2 separate regions of the Homo sapiens genome follow, and region 1 is linked to region 2. Evidence: promoter capture Hi-C in human tissues and cell types (Jung and others, 2019). All regions are on one chromosome and are shown on one strand. The core of a region is centred on a gene start or on the middle of the fragment in contact, and the rest is flanking DNA. Distances in the headings are between cores, read along the strand shown.

The links. The method cuts DNA at HindIII sites, captures the fragments that hold promoters and counts their contacts. A contact is called where the count stands out against the background at its distance.
Region 1: a fragment that was not itself captured here is called in contact with the fragment with the promoter of VIPR2 in region 2 in 1 of the 25 tissues and cell types used here (lymphoblastoid cells).

Annotation. Positions count from the first base shown.
Region 1 is chr7:158,685,458-158,690,814 of GRCh38, reverse strand. NCAPG2 (non-SMC condensin II complex subunit G2) reads left to right here. Exons shown (of 28, transcript NM_017760.7): 5 at 93-247; 6 at 862-996; 7 at 3,373-3,467; 8 at 4,574-4,643. Among named protein-coding and RNA genes, the nearest start is that of NCAPG2, 17 kb to the left of the region's middle. The HindIII fragment of the contact is 3,416 bases long and covers 447-3,862 here.
Region 2 is chr7:159,142,154-159,147,376 of GRCh38, reverse strand. It overlaps VIPR2 (vasoactive intestinal peptide receptor 2), which reads left to right and starts at 2,510. Exons shown (of 13, transcript NM_003382.5): 1 at 2,510-2,656; 2 at 4,832-4,931. The coding sequence starts at 2,606. RefSeq lists an enhancer at 1-712. The HindIII fragment of the contact is 14,641 bases long and covers 1-5,223 here.

The DNA.
Region 1 (5,357 bases), core at 905-3,404, 460 kb after region 2:
ATAATATATAAAGTCATGATACTCTAAACTGTTGACTCTGAAGTAATAAGAATTTGCCTTACTAATTGGAAAATTACTGTGCTGTATTTTAGGTATTTTATATGCATTACCTGAGTCTGAACGAAAACTACAGAGTTCTATTCAGGATTTGTGTGTTACCTGGTGGGAGAAAGGCCTGCCTGCCAAGGAAGACACAGGAAAGACAGCCTTTGTCATGTTACTAAGGAGGAGTCTGGAGACTAAGACAGTATGCTCACTTTTTATTTTTTTAAAGACAGGGTCTCTCTCTATTGCCCAGATGGAGTGCAGTGGCATGATCATAGCTCACTGCAGCCTCAAACTCCTGGGCTCGAGCAATCCTCCTGCCTCAGCCTCTCAAGTAGCTGAGACTTCAGGAGTGCACCACCTAGCTAGGACTTTATTTTTAAACGTCTTCCTAACATTCTAAACCTGCGCTATTCAACGTAGTAGCCACTTGCCACAGAAAGCTGTTTAAATTTAAAGTTAAAAATAATGAAAAATTCAGTTCCTCAGTTGCATTAGTCACATTTTAGTAGCTCTACAGTGAAATGTGGCTAATGTCTACTGCACTAGACAGTTCAGATGTATAAAATCTTCATCATCGAGGAAGTTCTTAAACTTGCTGGATTTTTAATTATTTTCCTTATGTTTTAAAAAAATGTTCTGTAGAGCTATAGGGGGCATTTGCAAATTTTAAAATCTGTTTTTATTTGTCGTTATTTTTTAATCTTTGATGAATCAACTAGAATTACCATTATTTATGATATAAAATATACTTGATTTGAAATATGACTTTACTGTTCATTGAAAAAGGTATCACATTTTTTGTGTCATTCCTAGGGTGCAGACGTATGTCGGCTTTGGCGTATCCATCAAGCTTTATATTGCTTTGATTATGATTTGGAGGAAAGTGGAGAAATTAAAGATATGTTACTTGAGTGCTTCATAAATATTAATTATATCAAGAAAGAAGAGGTAAATAGGTATTTGTTTTTTGATCTGTTTGTGAGCTGCTTCTTAATAGATGTTTCTCCTGTGTTCACATGGTTCCTGTCTGCACCATGCTCGGTGTTGCTTAGCTACCAGGAGCTATTTACTGCACATGATTTTTACTGCATGGCAGTACTAGAGAAGACATTTTACAAGTCCTTGCTTATTTCATCATTAAATTGGATGGTAACAGGTGGCTGTGTGTTACCTAGGGGAACCGTAATTACATTTTAAATTAAGAATGATTAAAAATAAGGTTGAGAAAGCACTTCTCTATGAATGAGATCTGGCCTTCTGCCCTAATTCCATTTTAATTGCCATGTACTCAAAACTGTCATCCCATAATATCCTCCCTTTCTTTTTTCTACCCATCCTGTAAATCCAGAGAGGCTTCTGGCCTGTTGCTGCACTGCCCGTCCTGGGGTCAACTCCCATATGAGGCTACTGAGCACCTGAAATGGGACCCAACTGAACTGAGATTAGCCATAAGTATAAAATACACATGGATTTGAAGATTTAGTGGGAAAGAAATGAACATAAAATAGCTCATTAATAATTTTTGTTCTATACTTAATATAATAGACAATATTTTTATTGTCTGTTATATTAAATATTGCTTTACATAAAATATATTATTAAAATTAATCTTCTTTACTTTTGTTAACATGACTACTAAAGAATTGAGAATTACAGAGAGGCTCGCATAGTTCTTCTGTGTTAGGGGCCTTCTGCAGTTGTTTACTGAGCGTCGACTACATGCTCAGGCAGTGCCAGGGGAGACTAGAACAAGCTTTTGCATTTGGATGCTCATGGCTCAGCAGGCACATCTCTGAGGCAGAAGGAGGAAGTCATCCCTCCTCCCTGAAGGAGGTGGAGAAGGGCTTCAGAGGAAGAGGAGGACCAGCTCTGAGGTACAGAATAAGTTTCCTCCAGGTGTCACAGCTGCTCAGCGGCAGAGACAGAACTGGACCCCGGCGAGCCATCTGCAGTCTGCTAGACAAAGGGCCATGTGATTAGGACTGAGACCTTTGGCTCCCAGGGTCTTTGTTCACTTTATAGGTGGTGCCCTTGGTCAGGCCTTTCAGCCTCAGAGTTTTGTTCTGTAAAATAGGAGCAACAGTTACTGTTTCACAGGATTGTTGTTAGGAACAGATGAGGTAATATGTATCAAACCGCAGCCCAGGCGCTGGTGGATAAGAACCCCTGGGGAGGGCTGCCCTTTGCCATCCTTGCTGTGTCAGCACCATCGTTATTACAAAGATGTTGGACACAGCCTGTGCCCCACACATGTCTCCAGGATTGTTCTGAAATGGGAGAGTGAAGAAATTAATGATGGATTCAAACAATAAACTATTTTATGTTGACTTATACATAAGGAGTTGATGAATCGTACTTGTTAACTTATATATGTGTGCAGATATATAACAGACATAAATGTATGTATGTGTTATAACCTCTACCCTTTTTAAAAAATTGATGTCTCCTTTGAATTTAAGATATCTAAATGTAGTTTCCTAATCAATCATTAATTTGGTCAGGTCAGTTTCCAGTCATTCTGGGTAAACCATAAACATCTTGTACTGTACTAACAGATTACTTCCAGTGAATATTACTGTTTTTTTTTTTAACTTGCCTGTTGTGAGCATGGTTACCCTGCATTTGAATCAAAATGTATTGCATTTCTGTAGGATTCCAGTTCTGTGCAGTGGTGTGCTGGTAAGAGATGAAGGTGCTATTCACTGAGAGAGTTCTAGATAGATGCATCTTATGCACTCTATAGAGTATGAAGATTGTATTCATTCTTCTTAGGTTCAGATACATAATCTAGTAGCATGCATATAAATTATCATCACATGATGTATTTATGACTTGAAGACTGTGTATTTGGAAATTCTAGCTTGACAAACACTTAGCCTTTTAACTATATGAGTCCTCAGTTTTCTCATCTATAAATGAGAAGGTGAAATGAACTGGGATATTCAACTCCATTCCCACCCACCTATGCTAGATTTAAAGCTTTCTTTCATTTGAGACTATGGAACCATCCATGACAGAGCCAGAATGAGATGTTTATGGACCCATGGTTACTGTCTGTGGTCTCCATCTCTGCACCTGTGGCCCTTGAGGACAGAGGCGCTCAGTGTAGCGGCTGCTCGGCCCTGGGGGAGGTGGCTTGTGTGGCTCCTGGCTGTGCAGGCCCCGCAGACAGCTCAACTCGTGCATGTGCTCTCAGTGATAATTACATGTGCCTCGTTTTTAGCAATAGCAATGTTTAGCTTACTAGACGTTCAAATAATTGTTTGTTATTTGGCACTTTTTATTTGGTTGCAATGTAAACATTCTATCCTTTTTTATTTCTAGGGAAGAAGATTTCTTAGTTGTCTCTTCAACTGGAATATCAACTTCATCAAAATGATCCACGGGACCATTAAAAACCAGTTACAGGGATTACAAAAGTAAGTGTTAAAAGTACTGAAGATTTTGTGCTGTCTTAATCTGGTTTTGAAAGATTCCATTTGGTCTGACTTCTTAAGTTATAGTAATGGATTAGAAGCTTTAGAAATACGTTATTTATTATGTACCATTGGATCACTGGGTAGCTTTTTCCTTTTATAGGAAATCATTCTTTTCCAGTATTGACCACTGAAATTAAGGTTTTAATTTGTGGTAGTTCTTTAAATAGTTAAAATAGTTTCCAGTTGAACCTTAGCCTCGCTCGTAATAAAGCCATGTCCATGGTACTTTGAATGCAATGTGTGCTTTTTGGTTGAACGTGGCCTGGCCAGGGTGGCTTCTCGGAAGAGCCTGTGGAATCTGCAGGAGCAGCAGGGAACGTTGCAGTCATGACTCTGCCACTCCCTGCGTGATGGAGATGTCAAGTGTGTGCTTGTCGTTTGCCAGGCACAAGGCAGAGTACTTCATTTGCTCCAGCACTGAGTACTTAGTCTCCATTTTAAAATTTAATCCTCACAACTCTCTTTTGAGATAGGCTTTGCTTTCTAAATTTCCCAGTGTCAGGCAACTGTATAAGTACCAAGTTGGGATCTGATTCTGGATCTCTGATTGCAAAGCTCCTGTTGTATACTAGATTGCTTTTTCATATTTCCTCATCTTCAGAATATTTGAGTTGAACTAATAGATTTCTAAGCTTATGATTCTTAAGTTGATACTGGTATTTTAGGGCTTCTTGTACCTCAGGAATTGGTAGCGTGAAAAGTCCAACGTGACTCCAAGTCGACAATTTATTTATATTTAAATATTTTTGACTTTAGAATTTTGTTCTGGACTTATGCACTCATAGTTTCACAGAAAATAGTAAAGTTTTGGGTAAGCCTTGACTGAGAAGGATGAAATAGTTCGTCACTTCAGTTTCCTTTCCCAAAACCTTCTCCGTTTTCTACTTTTTGCTACAGGTAGATAACCTATTTCTATAGATGATTTGCAAAGCACTAGTTTAAACTGAGTTTCTTCTTCACTATGGTTGGAGAGTAGCTGAAATGATACATGTTGAAAGAATAATTCTTAAAATTTGCATTAAAACTATTTTGATCTTTTTATATAGGTCTTTGATGGTATACATTGCAGAAATTTATTTCAGAGCTTGGAAAAAGGCTTCAGGGAAAATACTGGAGGTATTTTCATTTTTTTAAATGTTAACACTTATTTTTATTATATTTTAGTTACTAAATAAGTAGTCAAAGAAGGGTTATTTAAGATCCATGTTTATGCACTCTGTCAAAATAAAGCCAAATAATGAAAATCTATTTGATGGGCAATCCAGTCACTTGCTAAGATGTGTGGTTTGTGGGAGGTAGGACTGTGCTCTTTCAGCTGGGAGGGAGCTCTGACCCTGATCTTTCCAGCCATGTGCTCACTGGGCATTTGGAACGTGGCCAGTCTGAATCAAGATGTGTTGTAAGTGTAAGAAACATACCAGATTTCAAAGACTTCATATGGAAATGAGAATATAAAATATCTCAGTACTTTTTAAAAATGTTGAGTGAATGTTGAAATGTTAGTGGTTTGGATGTATTAGGCGAAATGTGGTAGTTGGCCCTTTGTGGGTTTCGCATCCATGGATTCAATCAACCAAGGATCGAAAATATTTGGGAAAAAAATGCATTGTACTTAACATGTACAGACTTTTTTTTCCTTGTCATCAGTCCCTACACATATAGTGTCACAACTATTTCCATAACATTGACACTGTATTAAGTATTATAAGTAATCTAGAGATGATTTAAAGTGTGCAGGAGTGCATAGGTTATATGCAGATACTACTCCACTTTATATGAGGAATTTGAGCATCCGCAGATTCTGGTCTCTGAGGGAGGTCCTAGAACTGA
Region 2 (5,223 bases), core at 1,261-3,760:
CGAGCTTTCTTCACAAGCCAAGCAGCCCGCCTAAGGCCCAGGTCTCCCTCTCCTCGTCTCCCACTAGATACACATGGATGAAGCCAGATAGATAACAGGTAGAGGATAGATGACAGGCAGATGACAGATAGGCAGATGATAGATGATCGATAGATGACAGGCAGATGATGGATGACAGGCAGATCACAGATATGATAGATCACAGATAGATGACAAATAGGCAGATGATAGATGACAGGCAGATGACAGATAGGCAGATGATAGATGACTGATAGATGACAGGCAGATCACAGATATGATAGATCACAGATAGATGACAAATAGGCAGATGATAGATGACAGGCAGATGACAGATAGGCAGATGATAGATGACTGATAGATGACAGGCAGATCACAGATATGATAGATCACAGATAGATGACAAATAGGCAGATGATAGATGACTGATAGATGACAGGCAGATCACAGATATGATAGATCACAGATAGATGATAAATAGGCAGATGATAGATGACAGGCAGATGACAGATAGGCAGATGATAGACTGATAGATGACAGGCAGATGACAGATAGGCAGATGATAGATTGATAGATGACAGGCAGATGACAGATAGGCAGATGATAGGTGATTGATAGATGCCAGCCAGATGACAGATAGGCAGATGATAGGTGATTGATAGATGACAGCCAGGTAGATCACAGATATGCCGGATCACAGATGATGGATAGGCAGATGATAGATGACAGATAATAGATGATAGATTACAGATAGACGATCGATAGGAAGATAATAGATGATAGGTACATGACAGATCATAGATAAATGACAGAGAGGTAGATGATAGATGATAAATAGGTAGATGGTAGGTAATAGATAGGTAATAGATCGCAGAGAGATGATAGGTAGATGATAGCTGATTGATACATGATACAGAGATGATAGGTACATGATAGATGGATAGATCATAAATGACAGCAGATGATAGATGATAAATAGGTAGATGACAGGTTATAGATAGGTAAATTACAGATGAAAGATAGGCAAATGATAGATGATAGGTACATAATAGATGGATAGATCATAGATAATAGATGACAGGTAGGTGATAGAGGAAAGGTGGATGATAGATGATAGGCGCATGATGATAGATACCTGACAGATGGATAGATGAAAGGTAGATGATGGACAGGTAGATGATAGATGACAGATAATAGATGACAGATTACAGATAGATGATCGATAGGAAGATGATAGATGATAGGTACATGACAGATCGATAGATGATACGTAGATGATGGATAGGTAGATGATAGATAATGTGGATGATAAACATCAGATGATAGAAAAATCGATATCTGTGAATACGGGGGGTGGGGGATCAGAGAGAAGCAAATGATAAGCCCAATGAGGTAAATGTTAATGACCGAATCCACAAAAAGGATAAAAAGGAGTTATTTGTAATATTCTTATTCTTCTAATTTTTGTGTAAGTTTGAAATTATTTCCAAATAAAAAATTAAAACAACACGAACTTAACTTGTATCTCTCATTCCAGTGCTTTCCACTTGCTGGGGAACGCCGAGCTCTCCTGGGTTGGTCACGCGGGCGCCTTGGGAGGCCGCGCAGTCCCGCGTGGGGCGCGGCGGGGCGGCCCCAGTGGCACCGCGTGAGTCCCCGCCCAGCGTTCCCCACCCGCCGCCGCGTTTGCGGGGAGAGAATGACCCCCGTTTTGCAAACGCAGGACACAAAACCCGCCACCCAGCTGAGGCTGGGACCCACCTATACCCCCGTCTGCGTTTTTCTCCAGCTTTCTGTTCGACCTGATGTCCTCTTTGAGGCTGCGGGGATCCCCACCAAAAAGCACTCTGATTTTCTCCATTTTCAGATGCCCCAACCTAGCCCCACTGGCTACAAAGACGGCGCGCCCACCCCGGACGGGTCTCTGGCCGCTTTCTTGGGCTTCCGCAGTTGTTTAGAAAGGCAGGTACAGGCGGCCGCAAAGGCATCCGCCCCTTCCGAGCGCACACCTGGCCCGGTCCTCCTCTCCCGGCCCCGCGCCGGCCGCTCTCCCCCAGTTCTCTCTACTCGGAGCCGGGCGCGCACTGAGCACCCCGCTTCCCAGCCCCTCCGCCCACAGATCGGGGAGGCGCGGCCGGGAGGGGGGCGTGGGCCAGGGAAGAGGGGAGGAGAACGGAGAGAGAGGCTGGGGGGGTCGAGGAGACCAGAGGGAGCGCGCGCGGCGGGGACAGAGAGCCCAGGGGCGAGGAGAGGGCGCGGGGCGCAGCGGAAGGGGAAGTGGGGGGCGGTGAGGAGGGGCGCGGAGCGGGGGTTCTCGGGGGAGGAGGGAGACGAGGATTGGGGCAGCGCGGGGCGGGGACAGGGGCGGGGGGCGGAGCGGCGGGGCGCGTGGGGGACGGGCGTGCATTGAGCGCGCTCCAGCTGCCGGGACGGAGGGGGCGGCCCCCGCGCTCGGGCGCTCGGCTACAGCTGCGGGGCCCGAGGTCTCCGCGCACTCGCTCCCGGCCCATGCTGGAGGCGGCGGAACCGCGGGGACCTAGGACGGAGGCGGCGGGCGCTGGGCGGCCCCCGGCACGCTGAGCTCGGGATGCGGACGCTGCTGCCTCCCGCGCTGCTGACCTGCTGGCTGCTCGCCCCCGTGAGTGCGCCCGCGACCCCCGCCCCACGGCGCCTCGGACCCGGTTCTCCCCTTCCGAGAAGAGCGCTCCTCCCGCCGGTCTTCGCCTTCCTCCCGGGTGCTGGAGCGCGGGCGGGGTCCGGGAGAGGGAGCGGGGTCGCCCGGGGTCCGGAGCTTCCTCCCGGAGAGCGTGAAGCGCTGAGCTCCGGTCCCGCCGGGTTGCGGGACTCGGGTTGGGAGGCTGCCTGCGCCCTTCCCCGCGCCCCACCGTCCGGGGTTTGCTGGAAACGGGATCGTTTCTTCCTGGACGCGTCAACGATGAGCTCGTTCGGGGCCGTCCCGGGAGCTGGGAGCTGCGGGCGCCTGCGCGGGCTGCGCGTTTCACGGGGAGATCGGGGTTGGCGTTGGCCGCAGATGCCTCTCGGTCCCTCCCTGTACTTACTGGTTAGTTTTAGTGTCGGGGGGACGTGGCGTCGGTTAAATAAAGTTTCCTTTTGGAAATAGTTGCTTTTTCCCAAGGGCACTGGAGGAACTAACTGCTCATAAGTTTGTTGATTAAGTGCCTTCGCACATGGAGTTCTGAATTATTCCCTCTGTGAACCTTAAAAAAAAAGGAAAGAAAAAAGAAAGAAAAAAACCCGAGCCTTGTTTCTTGCTTTCCTCTTGGAGACTGAAGCGGGTTTGCGGTGCGCGCGGTTTTCGTGCGCGTCGCAGCCGAGGCAGGTCTGGATCGATCCGCGGCCCCTCCGCAGCTGGGAGGCTGCGCTGCTGACCCGACAGTGTCATTGATTAACCGGCGACGCCCGGTCTGCAGCGGGGCTCGAGCCACACTCCCTGGCCTTGCGCGGAGGCGCAGCTCGGCTTTCCTCCCTCGAGGGTGGGCGCTTTGCGGAGCGGGTCCTTGGAAAGTAACGGGTTTTATCACGGTTAATGCTGCTTTCATTGCTAAAATGTCCTAAAAGAAGTCATTGCTGTGCATATTCCAGGAACGTCAGGTATTATTAATGTCTTTTACACTTTAACAAAGTTTTTCTTTTTACATCAATATAATTTCCTTAATTCTGAAATTTAAGCCACTTACTTGTCCTGCATGAAAACAGAGGACTTGGAGCCCAAAGTCAGTGCCTGGTGCTGGTTCAGTCACGAGCAAGAAGCAAGCTCGGGGCTCTTTTAAATGGGGCTGAAGGTGGCAGAAGTTCCAGCATTGTTTTCCCCTTAATTCTGTTAGGATATTGTGTTCCTGGTTGGAACTCTCATTGACCATTTCAATAGTAAGATAACTAAACATAGATGGCCATAGTACGCCCAACAGTATGATTCTCTTTAGTTACTACTTTAGTACAAGTAGAATTTTGGTCGGTGGTGGGGGAGGGGGAAGATCAAGACCAAAAGGATGGGTGGGGGGAGCCCTCCTTAAGCCCCCAAGGGCCGCTTGGCAGGCCTGTGCTGACTTCGCGGAGGGCGTGAAGAACAAGGTAGAAACGGTGCCTTCTGAGAGGAAGCATTGTGTAGTTCTGCCTTCTTCTCACATTAGTAGACTGTTAATTACTATCTTTGTGGCACCTTTCGCTCCCCTGATGGATCCTGACTGGAAATCGCCCCCTCTTCTCTGTGGGGCCACAATGGTGTGATTCCCCCACCTCTGCCTCCCTCCTCATCTTGCTGATTTCTTTGAATATCTCTTCCACCCCAAATTCTAGTCAAAACGATTGCAGTTTTATCTGTAGTTAGAGGGTTAAGCTTTGAACATGTACCAACACCTTTAAAAATAAAGCCCTTCTATCACGGCTCTTTCCCGGGTGGAGGCCGTCCTCGGAGGAAGCGGCACAGTCCACAGGCATCCGCTTAAACCAAACCAAAGGGTGTGAAACGGAGGAGCCGGGTATGGAGAGATGAATGGAGTAAAGAGCTCTGTTGCCTCCAAATTAGTACCGATGTATTCTGTTAGTAAGTTCATTTTCCTGCTCAGAAAAAAAATTCTATTAGATTTTGTGTTTGTTTTATAATACCTTTACAAAGTAAATAGTGAAGTTTTTAAAAAATGCCAGAAAAATCAAGGTGATTGGTTTTAAATGCATTTTGGTTTGGAAGCAGTTTAAAGCTGTGAGGTTTGGGGTTGTTTTTGTAGAATTTTTGCTTGCTTTTCTTCTTCTTGTGGAATTTTTAGTTATTAATATTTCTTTTAACCGTGAACAGGTGAACAGCATTCACCCAGAATGCCGATTTCATCTGGAAATACAGGAGGAAGAAACAAAATGTGCAGAGCTTCTGAGGTCTCAAACAGAAAAACACAAAGGTAAGGCAGAGGCTTGGTGAGTAAGAACTCCCGTGACATTCTCACCCGGGAATGCGCCTCACTCAGCTGTGGTTCAGGGTCACCACCTGCATCTTAAAAAAAAAAAAAGAAAAAGAAAGGCCACTTCCCATTGTTTGTTAATGAACTACTGGTAAAACTCAGAGAGAGTTGGATAGGTAGGGTCTTCACACACACCTTTAAAAAGATAACCTTAATCCTTAGCAGTAACAGTTTCCATGGTTTGAGATGATAGCAACAGTTACTAAAACAATTTCATGGGCTTTGTTATGCT